Linked DNA regions of Homo sapiens: region 1 is linked to region 2. The links are contacts of gene promoters, found by promoter capture Hi-C in blood cells and fetal thymus (Javierre and others, 2016). All regions are on one chromosome and are shown on one strand. Each heading gives the region's core, a stretch centred on a gene start or on the middle of the fragment in contact. The rest is flanking DNA. Distances are from core to core; before and after follow the strand shown.

Evidence for each region. Contacts are between HindIII fragments. The CHiCAGO score rates a contact against its expected background, and 5 or more counts as called.
Region 1: a fragment that was not itself captured here is called in contact with the fragment with the promoter of HIP1R in region 2 in 4 of 17 cell types (endothelial precursors, total B cells, non-activated CD4 T cells and 1 more); the score reaches 6.4 in endothelial precursors.

What each region holds. Positions count from the first base shown.
Region 1 is chr12:122,950,282-122,956,616 of GRCh38, forward strand. ABCB9 (ATP binding cassette subfamily B member 9) reads right to left here. Exons shown (of 12, transcript NM_019625.4): 3 at 170-284. Among named protein-coding and RNA genes, the nearest start is that of ABCB9, 13 kb to the right of the region's middle. The HindIII fragment of the contact is 5,325 bases long and covers 1-4,852 here.
Region 2 is chr12:122,833,926-122,841,275 of GRCh38, forward strand. It overlaps HIP1R (huntingtin interacting protein 1 related), which reads left to right and starts at 1,532. Exons shown (of 32, transcript NM_003959.3): 1 at 1,532-1,718. The coding sequence starts at 1,626. LOC124903040 (a long non-coding RNA gene) reads right to left here and starts at 1,308. Exons shown (of 2, transcript XR_007063501.1): 1 at 1,249-1,308; 2 at 630-913. RefSeq lists an enhancer at 1,134-1,183 and silencers at 1,434-1,673, 1,844-2,043. The HindIII fragment of the contact is 2,457 bases long and covers 1-2,323 here.

The DNA of each region.
Region 1 (6,335 bases), core at 940-3,439, 120 kb after region 2:
CTAAGACAGTGTGGAAGCCGGTTCCCAGGGTGACCAGCTGAGGGACAGGCCCACCAGGGGCATTTCCAGGGCCTCCCTGGCCCCTGTCTTCCTTAGGAACAGGCCCTCCCTTCCCTCCCTGGTGCAGGTCGGGGTGTGCGGGGCAGGGCGTGGGGGTTGAGCCAGCTACCTGCCAATGGCCAGCAGGCACACGATGACGACAGCCGTGCTGAACTGATCCATGCTTTTCTGGATGACGATGCCATCAATGGCGCGGCCCGTGTAGTAGGGCAGGAAGGTCTCTCCTGGGGGAGGCAGGGCAGCCTCAGGGACGTCTGCAGCCAGGGGAACCCGCACCCTTCCTCCTGAGGCTCCAGAAGTCCACACACCAACCCCTCTGCCCACTCCACCGGTGGGCTTTCCTCCCTCGGCAAACTCTTGCTGCCCATCGTGGGGCCCCAGGGTGCTTAATGCCCCCCTCCTCAGAGAACAGGGGAGCACTGGGCCTTGCATCCACACAGCCTGCTGGTTCTTCTTTATTTATAGTGGCTACCAGGCATCGAGCCAGGGCTCCTGCAGGATGCTTCATTCTCTTGTTTTTTGAGACAGGGTCTCGCTGTGTCCCCCGGGCTGGAGTGCAGTGGTGTAATCATAGCTCACTGCAGCATCAAACTCCTGGGCTCAGGTGATCCTCCTGTCTCAGCCTCCTGAGTAGGGAATACAGGCATGTGCCACCATGCCAGGCTAATTTTTTTTTTTTTTTTTTTGTAGAGACAGGGGTCTCACTATGTGGCCCAAGCTGGTCTCAACCTCCTGGGTTGAAGCAATCCTCCTACCTTGGCCTCCCAAAGTACTGGGATTATAGGTATGAGCCACCGCTCCTGAACTTTGTTTCATTCCCTTTGGAGCAGGCCCTGGAATCACCCCCATTTTACAAATGAGAAAAATTAATTTGTTTTTCTTTTTCTAAAATATTTTCCTTTTTTTTTTTTTTTTTAACTTTTTGAGACAGGGTTTCACTCCTGTCGCCCAGGCTGGAGTGCAGCCTCAACCTCCTGGGCTCAGTGGATCTTCCCACCTCAGACTCCTGAGTAGCCGGGACTACAGGCACACGCCACCAGGCCTAGCTAATTTTTTGTATTTTTTTGTAGAGACGAGGTTTCGCTAGGTTGCCCAGGCTGGTCTCTAACTCCTGGGCTCAAGCGATCCACCCACCTCAGCTTCCCAAAGTGCTGGGGTTACAGGCCTGAGTCACAGCGTCCGGCTGAAAGTGAAGTTGAATGAGATGACTCGTCCAGGCCACATGGCAATCAGTGGCTGATTGACGCCAAAGTTGATTTCATTCTTCTCAATGGGTTCAGAGTCCAAATTCTGGAACCTCAGAAGACGTTGCTATTCTGGTTCCAAGCAATGCTGGAAATTGCCACCCCACCCCTCCTGGTGGGGCACTTGACACCTTGCTGGGTGCTTTCTTACCCGCTTGCCTTACTGTGTTTTCACAACAATCCTGGGGTGGAATGGGAGACTCACAGAGGCTGAGGAATTTACTCCAGGTCACACAGCAAGGGGAAAGGCTGGGACTCAAACCTAAACTGGCTTTCAACCTGGGGGCTCTTTCTTTTCCCTTCCTCCTGTGGTCTGAATGCATCTCCCAAAATTTACATATTGAAACATAATCGCCAATGTGATAGGGCAGAGCTCTCCAGGATGGGATGAGGGCCCTTTTCAAAGGGCTTGTAAGCCTGGTTTGCCATCTCTCGCCCTTCCACCTTCTGCAGCGTGAGGACACAGCAGTCTTCCCCTCCAGAGGACACAGCAAGGAGGGACCATCTTGGAAGCAGAGAGTGGCCCTCACGACACCAAACCTGCTGGCACCTTGATCTGGGACTTCCCAGCCTCTAGAACAGTACGAAATCAGTTTCTATGGTTTCTAAATGACCCAGTCTGTGGTATTTTGTTACAGCAGCAGAAATGAGACTCCCCCGACAATAATCCGGAATGTCCACTCTCCTCTTAAGGAAATAGTGGCATCACCAGGCCAGGCCAGGCCCTTGTTCATCCCAGGACCTGTTTCCACTGAAGTTCTTTCCATGAGCAGAGCCAGGTTTGGGGCTGGGCATACAGTAGGTGCTCAATAAAGGTCAGTGAATGAACCCCGGGCAGGTCTGGCTAGCACAGTCTGGCCTGGCTCAGACACTTGGGTAGTGAGACTTTCTGTGCAGTTCTGGTGCCCTCTGCTGGGACCATGAGGTGGCAGCCTAGAGGGCCTGTGTCCCCACAGTCCTTGGCCAGACGAGGTCTCCAGCTGAGGCTGCAGAGTTCCACCCAGCCTGAGTTTCTGCCTCAGTTTACCCACAGAAAAGAAGAGGGCAACGATGAGCTGTGACAGAATATTCTGGAATATCTGATTCCAGCAAGCACCAATGCTAATAATCGCCTTACTGGGTACCAGGGGCTGTGCAAAGCATGCCGGCAAACTCTCTTGCTGAATCTGCACAAGAATTACGTGAAACTCTCCAATGCACCAGCAAATACTCAGACCATTTCCAGAACCTGACCACTTTCACTGCCTCTACTGCCCCAACCCTGGTCCAAGTCATTAACCTCACTGGGACTATCTCAGTAGCCTGCTCTCAACTTTGCTCACATCAGCCTGTCCACACAGTAGAAGGCAGGATCCTGTTGGAACTAACTTCAGATCTTGTTGCTCCTTGGCTCAAAACAGTCCAAATCCCCCTTCTCATCCAGTGAGATGGTAAAAGCCAAAGTCTTTACAATAGCCCACAAGGACCTGCATGATTGAGCCGCTAGCAGAGACCTTTGTCTTCTCCCCGCCCCATCTCACTCCCTCTGCTCCAGCTAACTGGTGTCTGCTCTTGAACAACTGGGCACCTTCCTGCCTCAGGACCTTTGCATGGGCTAGTCCTTCTGCCTGGAGTGCTCTTACCACATACATTTTTTTTTTTTTTTGAGATGGAGTCTCAGTCTGTTACCCAGGCTGGAGTGCAGTGGCATGATCTCAGCTCACTGCAACCTCCACTTCCTGGGTTCAAGTGATTCTCATGCCTCAGCCTCCCAAGTAGCTGAGATTACAGGTGACCGCCATCACACCCGGCTAAATTTTATATATGTATATATATATTTTGAGATGGAGTCGCACTCCGTCGCCCAGGCTGGAGTGTATTGGCACGATTTCAGCTCGCTGTAACCTCTGCCACCTGGGTTCAAGTGATTGTCCTGCCTCAGCCTCCCGAGTAGCTGGGATTACAGACACCTGCCATTGCACCTGGCTAATTTTTGTATTTTTAGTAGAGATGGGGTTTCACCATGTTGGCCTGGCTGATCTTGAACTCCTGACCTCGTGATCCACCTGCCTTGGCCTCCCAAAGTGCTGGGATTACAGGCATGAGCCATCGCACCTGGCCTAAATTTTATATTTTTATTAGAGACAGGGTTTCACCATGTTGCCCAGGCTGGTCTTGAACTCTTGACCTCAAGTGATCTGCCCGCCTCGGCCTTCCAAAATGCTGGGATTACAGGTGTGAGCCACCACACCCAGCCACTTACCCCAGATATCTGCTCCCCTACCTTCTTAAGTCTCAAAGGCCACCCAGTAATCCTATAGGTTTGGTACAATTATTCCTTCCATTTGTGGAAATGTATTCTTTACACAAAAGAGGAAACTGAGGCTCAGAGAGATTAAGTCACTTGCCCAAGTTTATACATTTGGTTTGCCATGAAATCCATATTAAAGAATCTTAGGCTACAGAAGGTAGCTCACACCTGCAATCCCAGCACTTTGGGAGGCCGAGGTGGGAGGATCACTTGAGCTGGAGAGGTCAAGGCTGAAGTCGCTGTGATCACTCCACTGTACTCCATCCAGCCTGGGTGACAGAGGGAGGCCCTGCCTCAAAAAAAAAAAAAAGGACTCCATTTGTTTTTTATGTATTTTTTTTATTTTTTTTGAGACGGAGTTTCACTCTTGTTGCCCAGGCTGCGATGCAATGGTGCGATCTCCACTCACAGCAACCTCTGCCTCCTGGGTTCAAGCGATTCTCCTGCCTCAGCCTCCCGAGTAGCTGGGATTACAGGCATGCGCCACCACACCTAGCTAATTTTGTATTTTTAGTAGAGACGGGGTTTCTCCATGTTGGTCAGGCTGGTCTCGAACTCCTGACCTCAGGTGATCTGCCCCCCCTTGCTGAGATTACAGGTGTGAGCCACCGTGCCCGGCCTATTTTTTATTTTTTGAGACAGAGTCTCATTCCGTCACCCAGGCTGGAGTGCAGTGGCACGATATCAGCTCACTGCAACCTCCACCTCCCAGGTTCAAGCAATTCTCCTGCCTCAGCCTTCTGAGCAGCTGGGATTACAGGCGTGTGCCACCACGCCCGGCTGATTTTTGTATTTTTAGTAGAGACGGAGTTTCACCATGTTGGCCAAGCTAGTCTTGAACTCCTGACCTCAAGTGATCTGCCCACCTCAGCCTTCCAAAGTGCTGGGATTATAGGTGTGAGCTGCTGCACTTGGCCTCTAAAGAACCTTAATTTAATAAGAGATACTCAACCCTAAAACTAACATTTCCCAATGGGTGGTTTTTTGTTTTTTGTTTTTGTTTGTTTGTTTTAAGATTCTGAGGGTACAGAAAAGCTGGGCACTGCTGAATGCTTGTTGATTGAAAAATAATTATTAATAATCACAGTACCTAATTGTCTTTTTTGAGATGGGGTCTCGCTATGTTGCCCAGGTTGGTCTCAAACTCCTAAGCCAAAGCAACCCTCCCTCCTTGGCCACCCAAGTAGCTGCGGTCACAGGTACATGGCATTGCACCTGGCCCTAACACTGATTAAGTATTTACTTGTGCTAGGCACCAAGCTTCCTCTCACTTCTTTCTCACAGTACCCCAAGAAAGCCCTCACTTCAGAATGGTCAAGTGAGCGTTGGCCAGGTTAATAACTTGCCTAAAGTTATCAGTGAAGTCGGGAGCCTGAGCCTCGAGTCTGCGCCCTGACTCTTGATGCAATCCTGCAAGCCGGGAAAATCTGCTCAGCAGTATTTAAGGATGTCTGCATTCCCCGACCACACAGCAGCTGACGGCAGGGCCCCAGCAGGTCGGGTAAACAAGGTCATGGCATGGGGCACCATCTGTCTGCACAGGCATGACAGTCATTCATACTTTTGTTCATTTATTCATTCAGTGAGCCCATCTCTGTGCCAGCTACTGGGATCCAGGGTGAGTCAGACCTGGCCCCTGCCCCTGAGGGGCTCAGGACCTGGGAGGGGAGGCAGGAGGGTGAATGCATACATAACAGGGTCTTGCTATGTTGGCCAGACTGGTCTTGAACTCCTGGCCTCAAGTGATCCTCCTGCCTCAGACTCCCAAAGTACTGGCATTGTAGGCATGAGCCACTGTGCCCAGCATAAATGCATAGTTTTTTGGGTTTTTGTTTTTTTGTTTTTTTTTTTTTTGAGACGGAGTCTCACTTTGTTGCCTAGGCTGGAGTGCTGTGGCACAATCCCAGCTAACTGCAGCCTCCACCTCCTGGGTTCAAGATATCCTCCTGCATCAGCCTTCTGAGTAGCTGGGATTACAGGCGGCTGCCACCATGCCCAGCTAATTTTTGTAGTTTTAGTAGAGACGGGGTTTTGCCATATTGTCCAGGCTAGTCTCGAACTCCTAACCTCAGGTGATCTGCAGGCCTCAGCTCCCCAGAGTTCTGGGATTATAGGTGTGAGCCACCGTACCCAGCCTGAACATATGATTTTTATGTCATAAAAGCTATAACTGAGGTGCAGACAAAGTTACCACAGTTGGCAGAATCTAAGGTGGCTTCCTAAGGAGGGGACTTTTGGGCCGCCCAGCATGAGCCAGGAGAAACTGCCTGGTTTAATGGGAAGGGGTCATCCCAGTCCTCACACCTGCTAGTATTACTGGGAGGTGTCTATGTGCCAGGAGCTGTCCAAGGTGTCTCACCCATGTGGATTCACTGACCTTTCCAACCCCATTGGAGGGGTACTACTATGCCCATGTCACAGAAGAGGAGGCTAAGACTTAGAGGGGTTAAATAACTTGCCTAACCTCACACAGATGTTGAGGAGATGGGACTGAGAGGGCAGAGGTAGATCGTAGGAGTACAGGGCTGCAGAGTCAGGGCCAGCTCTGGGTTTGCCTGTCCTCTCTCAGAACATTCTGGCATTGTTATTGCATTGTCACCTCTCTAGGCTCTGTCTCTGTCAGTTAACATTTTTATTTTACTATTTTATTATTTATGTTTTTTGAGATGGAGTCTCACTTTGTCACTCAGGCTGGAGTGCAGTTGTGTGAGCTTGGCTCACTGCAACCTCTGCCTCCCAGG
Region 2 (7,350 bases), core at 282-2,781:
GAAAAGGGTCCCTGGCGGGGTGTGGTGGCTCACGCCTGTAATCCCAACACTTTGGGAGGCCGAGGCGGGCGGATCACCTGAGGTCGGGAGTTCGAGACCAGCCTGACCAACACGGAGAAACTCTGTCTCTACTAAAAATACAAAATTAGCCAGGCGTGGTGGCACATGCCTGTAATTCCAGCTATTTGGGAGGCTGAGGCAGGAGAATTGCTTGAACCCAGGAGGCGGAGGTTGCGGTGAGGTGAGATTGTGCCATTGCACTCCAGCCTAGGCAACAAGAGTGAAGCTCGGTTAAAAAAAAAGAAAAGAAAGAAAGAGAAGAAAAGAAAAGAAAGAAAGAAAGAGAAAGAAAGAAGAGAGAGAAAGAGAGAAAAGAAAGAAAAGAAGGAGGAAGGAAAGGAAAGGGAAAGGGAAAGGAAAGGAAAGGAAAGGAAAGGAAAGGGTCTCTGACCTCAGACAGGTTACAGTCTCACTAGGGAGACAAGGGTCAGGATTACGTGGGCGTCATTTTCCTCCTTACAGGCAGGCGGTGCCTCTCCCTTCAAAAGCAAGGGACCTTTATGCATGATTCCACATCTGCATTCCGATAGGAAAGGGAAACAGCAGAAACACAATACCCATCTGAGAGCTACGCTTAGAGAGGACTCTGGGCTTTTATTTATTTTTTTACTTCAGTCTTGTGACCAGTAATTTTAAGGGAAAGCCAATAATAATGTTTTTAAAAAGCCTCACGCCACCCCTGGCGGCATCTCCTCGGTGTACTTTGCTGTTCAGATCCGCCTGCCTTCTGTGCCAGCCTAACAGCGCCCGGCCTCAGCCCCCATTGTCCCTGGAGCTGGCGAGGTGTCCGGTTGCGGAGCCGGCGGCGTCTCTGGAAATGCATCCTGCATCCCCGCATGGATAACAGCTGCAGCTATGTCAGAATTGCACAAAGAGGGGAGAGTGTCATTGTGTGCCTTTTGACACATACATTAAGACCAAAAAGGAAAAAAAGCGTCTATCTGTGCTGCCACCGACCAGACTCATGGAGGCCAGATTTTCTCCAATTAACCAGATCTTGCCCTGGTGCAGACAAGACTTAGTGAGTTCGGAGGAGGGGTGGGGAGAGGGAATTGGCTGGGGTCCCTACCCTGGGTGGAAGGAGGAGGGAGGGGTTCCCCCTCCCCCTTCCCCTACCCTCCCCTCCGGGTTTAGGGAGGGGATTAGAGGTGGGGAGGAGCTGGGGGGGCGTTTGGCCTGTGCCCCAACCTTGTGAGTGAGGTGGGGGTTGGAGGTGTGCGGGGGGCGGGGCGTGTGCCGGGGTCGCCGCGGGATGGGGGGTTGGGGATGTGCGGGGAGAGGCGCGTGTCCCGAGATCGCGGGGGGTGGGGTTGGAGGTGTGCGGGTGGAGGGGCGCGCCCTGGAGTTGGGGGCGGGCGAGGCGTTTGCGGGCGCGGGGGGCGGGTTTGGAGGTGTGCGGGGGAGGGGCGTGCCCTGGAGTTGGGGGCGGGGCGAGGCGGGCTCCTCCCCGGCGGGCGGGCCCGGGCGCGGCGCGGTGGCCTCGCGGTGCCTAGGCTGGGGCTGCCGGACCGTGAGGCTGTGAGTCGCGCGGACGGAGCCGGACAAAAGCGGGCGGCGGCGGCAGGATGAACAGCATCAAGAACGTGCCGGCGCGGGTGCTGAGCCGCAGGCCGGGCCACAGCCTGGAGGCCGAGCGCGAGCAGTTCGACAAGACCCAGGCGAGCGGGCGGCGGGCGGCGGGCGGCGGGCGGCGGCGGGCGGGCGGGCAAGCGGCGTCCCTGACCCCTCACGCGCGAACGGCTGGGGCCCGGGAGGCGCCGGCCAGGGGCGGGGGACGGCGCGGGGGCAGGGCCTGTGTCCGCCCGGGCTCTCCGAGAGCTCCGCTGCCGCCCCCCGCCGGCCTCCGCGGCCCGAGCCGACCGGCGCGCAGGTGAACCGGAAGCCGCGCTCCCCGCTCCCGCCGGGCGCTCGGGCCCAGAGGCGCCGGGGCTGAGGGGGCCGGGGTCAGGGTGTGCGCGGGCCGGGAGCGCCGGAGCTGAGGCGGCGGGGGACGGAGATGGGGCCGGGGTTGGGTGTGCGCGAGCCCAGCGCGCCGGGGGTCGAGGGGGCTGGGGATCCAGGTGCTCCCGGGGCCGGCGCGGCCCGACTGGGGTCCCCGACCTTCCGTGCCGCTCCTTGCCGGCTCCTGCCCCCGTCTCCTACCCCCTGAAACCGATGCCCCCACGGGCAATTTCCTTAAAGGAAATTCCTTAAACTCCCAGCTTCCTTCTCTCGTGAGCGGTTTCCCAGGGCTGCACAGTCTCCTATTATTTGCTGGGTGAAAAGCTTCTCGTATGTCGCCAGACTTGTTTGCCCGAGCGCTGCCCACGTATAAATAGGTGCACACCCCCTCATTAAATACCGGCGCCCGACAGACAGAAACTTCCTGGGGCTCCCTTCCTGCGCCTCCCACGCTTGTAACTCTTCCAGATGATGCCTATCCTGGGAAGGCGTTAGAAATGAAATAAGGGCGCGGGTGTGCGTTTTGTACTTGTGTTTGTGCCGGGGACCCACGATGCAGACGTTGCTGCGTTTCTGGTTTCCTGTTGCTTTTTATTTTACAAACTCTTGAAGTGCTCTCAGGCTTGGGGGATGGGCGGTGGAGGGGGGCATACTTGTTTATTTGCCAAAATAAGTCAACCAAGACTGAAATGGCTGAAAAATTTTACTCTAGAGATAAAGGAAGCCAGAGGACCCCTCCCACTCCTGTCTAAAGCAGGTTGGTGACATTTGCGTTTGTGGCGGCTATTTGCAAGTTCCGTCCCACTTGTCCTTGCAGAGAGCTATGACTTCTGCGGTTGCCTTCACATCTAGTTAGCACACGCACTCTACAACAGCTTTCGTTTTGAAATGAGAGAGAACGCAGGGAGACCTTCTAACCTTTGTGCTTGGGATTGACCCAGAAAGCGATAATAAATCCTGAGGATATCAAGGCTTTAGAAATGCGAAGTGCTGGAACCCAGGTGGCTGCAAATTACCAATTTAGCCTTGTGATCTTCATCACCATCAACTGGTTCAGCCCGGATAGCCCGTCATTTTAAAAAAATTTAAAGTCACCAATACATAATTAATTGTGCCAAGAACTTGTAGATCATAGGGAGAAAACCTGAATTGGCAGACATATCTGGATGTTGTCAGAAACTTTGTTTATTCACTGAGTTTTTTCTCGTGCCTTTGAGGACGTATAAAGAGGTCTGATTGCTACATGGAGGAGATGGGATGTGAAGGACCAACTTCATTGATCTTACTCTTAAATGATAAGAAGTCAAGGGCAACCTTCCTGAGTGTCAAAGAGAGAATCTCTGATACAGGACCACACATTTTAGTGGTTGGTTTGATACACAAGAAGGTGGATTTTTTTTTTTTTTTTTTAAAGACAGAGTCTCTCTCGTTGCCCAGGCTGGAGTGCAATGGCATGATCTCAGCTCGCTGCAACCTCCGCCTCCCGGGTTCAAGTGATTCTCCTGCCTCAGCCTCCCAAGTGGCTGGGACTACAAGCGTGCGCCACCACACCTGGCTAATTTTTGTGTTTGCAGTAGAGAAGGTGTTTCACCATGTTGGACAGGCTGGTCTCGAACTCCTGACCTCAGGCGATCCACCCGCCTCACCTCGGCCTCCCGAGATGTTGGGATTACAGGCACCTCTCCGAAGGTGGATTGTTTTGTTTTGTTTTGCTCTGGTTTTTTCTCAGAGGCTAAGAGGGCCACTAACAATGAATAACTTTGTAATGGGTGAATGTCACAGGTCTTACCTATTCTAGGGCCCCATTTTCTGGAAAGTTGGAGTTTGAGTTCATTGTCTGGGTTTGCTCGTCTTCACAGTGACTTATTGAGGAATGTAAGAATGAGGTTTTGTACGTGGTTAATATTTAATTAGATCGTTCCCAGAAATAATCAGGTGAGCCGCCAGCCAGGTCCCGTGGTGGAAAAGGACCTGGAGAGCTGAGGTTGTTACTTCCATGTCTCCTTCGGGACAGAAAATAGCACATGCAGTCCAGGGACCTGGCTTCCTTTGTAATACGCTGCTTGTCTTGCATTGACCACAGCACTGTGTGCTGTGGCAGGAGCACTAGGCTGGCTTAGAATTTAAATATTCACTAGCCTGCCAGCCTCGCTTTCCTCCCCTGGGCTCCTGGGTCAGGAGGAAGATAATTGCTTTCCTGTGAGCTTTTTTGACAGGACACACCCTGTTTGCAAATATCTGTGGGGTTAGCGCTCAGGAGTGTGAAGAGAGGCGATCATGTGCCTGCTGGGAGCTGGTGCCTGTGATTGTTGCATGGTGTGTGTGTATAATCCCAGGGGAATGTCCAGAAAACCAGTGTATGCTTTTCTTCCCTATGACTTTAGTCCCTTTGGTTAAAAAAAAAAAAAATCCTTTTCAAAATGGAGGTGACAAACTTTTATTGTCTTGTTGCTGTTTTCTGAATACAGAATACTACAAAATACAGCATGCCTGTATTTGGAACCTGAACACTGCCTGTACCATTTAAAAAGAGGGTGTGGTATCATAAAGGCACTAGTAGGTAGATAGACCTAGGCTCTAGCCTGTGTCCCTGGCAAGTTGCTTAACTTGTAAATCTATGTCCTTGTCTGAAAAAAAAACCATACAGATCGTTCCAGCTATCGTATAGGGCTGTTGTAAGGTGTAAGAGAGAGACCGTGTGGCAGCTAGAACCTGTGACTACGTTAATGACTTAGTAAGGCGTTGCAGGTGGAATTAGAGTTTTTCATCAGCTGAGATGGTCCTTGAGATGGGGCGATTCTCCTGGGCTACCAGGTGGGCTCAGTGTAATCACAAAGGTCTTTAAATGTGGACAAGGGAGGCAGGAGAGGAGGTCGGACTGAGTCCATGTGAGAAAGACTCACTGCCTGCTGCTGGGGAGGAGCCACTAGCCAAGGAGTATGGGCATCCTCCACAGCCTGGAAAAGGCGAGGAAATGGATTCTTCCCTAGAGCCTCCAGGAGGAAACACAGCCTTTCTGACACTTTGCTTTTAGTCCTGTGAGACCTGTTTTAGACTTCCGACCTCCAGAACTGCGAGTTTGTGTGATTTGTTATGGCAGCCATAAGGAACTAATACATCCAGTATGTAAACATGAAAGAGCACCTAGGGCATAGAAGGGCCTCAGCAGATACTTGGCCCAACCGTCTTTCTCCCTTCCCTTCCTCGGCTGAAAAGTTTAACATCTAGAGAAGAAAGCATCTTTGAAGCATATCATGAAGAAGGACTCAGTTAGGAGTACTGGAAATGCTAATGGTGAGTCCTGCCTTTTCCTGATCTGTGAACCTTTCTGCTTCACTGGGCCTCAGTTTCCACTGCAGGCCCACAGGATGGAGATCAAGCCCAGAAGATTCCTCTCAGGTTAGGATGAGAGAAACCCTTTACTACACTGCAAGGCCTCTGGCCACTGCTGAGTGAGCCAAGTCTGGCGGGTGAGCATTAACTGTAGACATGAAACTACCCAGGTGTAAGGGGTTCCTGTGGGGCAGGGACTGTCTAGGGCAGCAATATGTGGAAACAGTTCATAGGTCCAATTTTCCAGGTTGGTGACATACATGCTTAGCATCCCCCGTGAAACCAAAATCCTGTCAAGATTAACATTTATTGACAACTGAGGGCTTCTCAGCCCCGGCACACAGTAGAGCAGTGTTGTCCAGGAGGAACCAGAGGCAAGCCACGTGTGTACTTTTAGATTGTCTAGTAACTACTAGAAAAGTCAACAGAAACAGGTGCGATTAACTGTAATAGCATATTTTATTTAACCCAGTATATCCAAAAGCTAGCCCTTTCAACATGTAATTGCCACAAAAATTATGAATAGGAGAATTTACATTCTTTTTCTCCTACTAAATCTTTGAAATAGGTATGCACTGGACACTCACAGCTGATCTCAGTCTGGACTCACCACCTTTCCAATACTCACAGCCCGCACCGGCCAGCGGCTACCGTGCCGGACAATGCAAGTGTTAGAATCACCTGGTGGCTTTTAGAAAAGGGCAACATTTACGTGTATAGGAGTGATTTGCCCGCAGCATGGCATGGGCGTTGAGCTCGTTGTTCCTGGGCATGCGCACTGCTGTCTCGCCCCGTGACATCCTCTGCTCGGTTCCACCCCATCAGCCCACATGGTGATGCCCTCGTGGTGATGCCCGGCAGGCCGCTGACTTCCCGACCCCTGGGCTGCATATTGCCTCCCTGGCAGAGCTATTCCAGAGGCTGTTCTTGGTCCAGGTTGGGGTGGGAAGGGGCCACCCATCCTTGACCTCCCCCTCCCTGTCTCTGATGTGTTTTGATGCCCATGACACATTCCTGAGCGCCGCTTGCTGTCTTACCATTTGGCCTGTTCCTGTAGCTTTGGGGTGTGCCCCAGGAAGGTCCGAGTCATCTTTGTACCCTCTAAGAGGTGGAGAGATGCCAACTGTGGCCACGTGTGGAATGGTAGGGCAGTCAAGAGCAAGCTCCAGGTTCAGCCCCTGGCTCTGTCCCTTCACCACTCTGCCTCAGTTTCCTTATCTACAAAATGGGGGCAATAATACTACACACCTCCTGGAGTGGTTGTGAAGAAATTTACAGGTGTTCATAGTGCCTGGTGTGTAGTGAATGCCGTGTAAGTGTTGGCTGTTATGTTGTGTTCAGAAGAGCAGGCTGGGCTGAAAGAGAGAAACAAGCTCCCTGTTGAGCTCTGCCCGGTGCCCTTAGATTAGCTGTAAGCGGAGGCCTTGTGTGCTGGGGCGGTTGGGGAGAAAAGTGGATCTGCACAGAGGTTGGGGGGACTCAGGCAGGTGGGGACAGCCCTTCCCTGGAAGAGTGAGCCCAGAGGTGCCACATTATGAAGGCTCTCCAGGGTTGGGAGGATATTCTGGGGGACGACAGCCTCAGGAGGTGCAGACAAAGCCAGCAGGAGCCTTGCCTGGCAGAACTGCTCACCCTCTGAATAGGGACAGGCGCAGACGAGGCCCCTTCTCTGACCTGATCCAGAAGCCAGCCTCCCAGCCAGCGCTGCACCGGTCATTCGCGAATGAAACCCAGCTGGCCACTGGATCCCAGCAGCTTAAAGTGGAAAGCCTCTGAGTGGAGTCCAGGCCTGCTTGGCCAAGGGACAGGGATACCCAGCCGGCTAACCTGAGACGCCTTGGCTGCTCTGTTGGCAATGCCCTTACCCGCCCCCTCCCCGCCCAACTTGGTAATCTGCGATGCTAACTTGAATATCACCTCCTCTGTGCAGCCACCCGCTGCCGTCCTCCTGCCCAAGCCTCTCTGTGCTGCCCAGTCCTCATGACATTATTTGCGCTGCTTCCACATCTGCCCTGA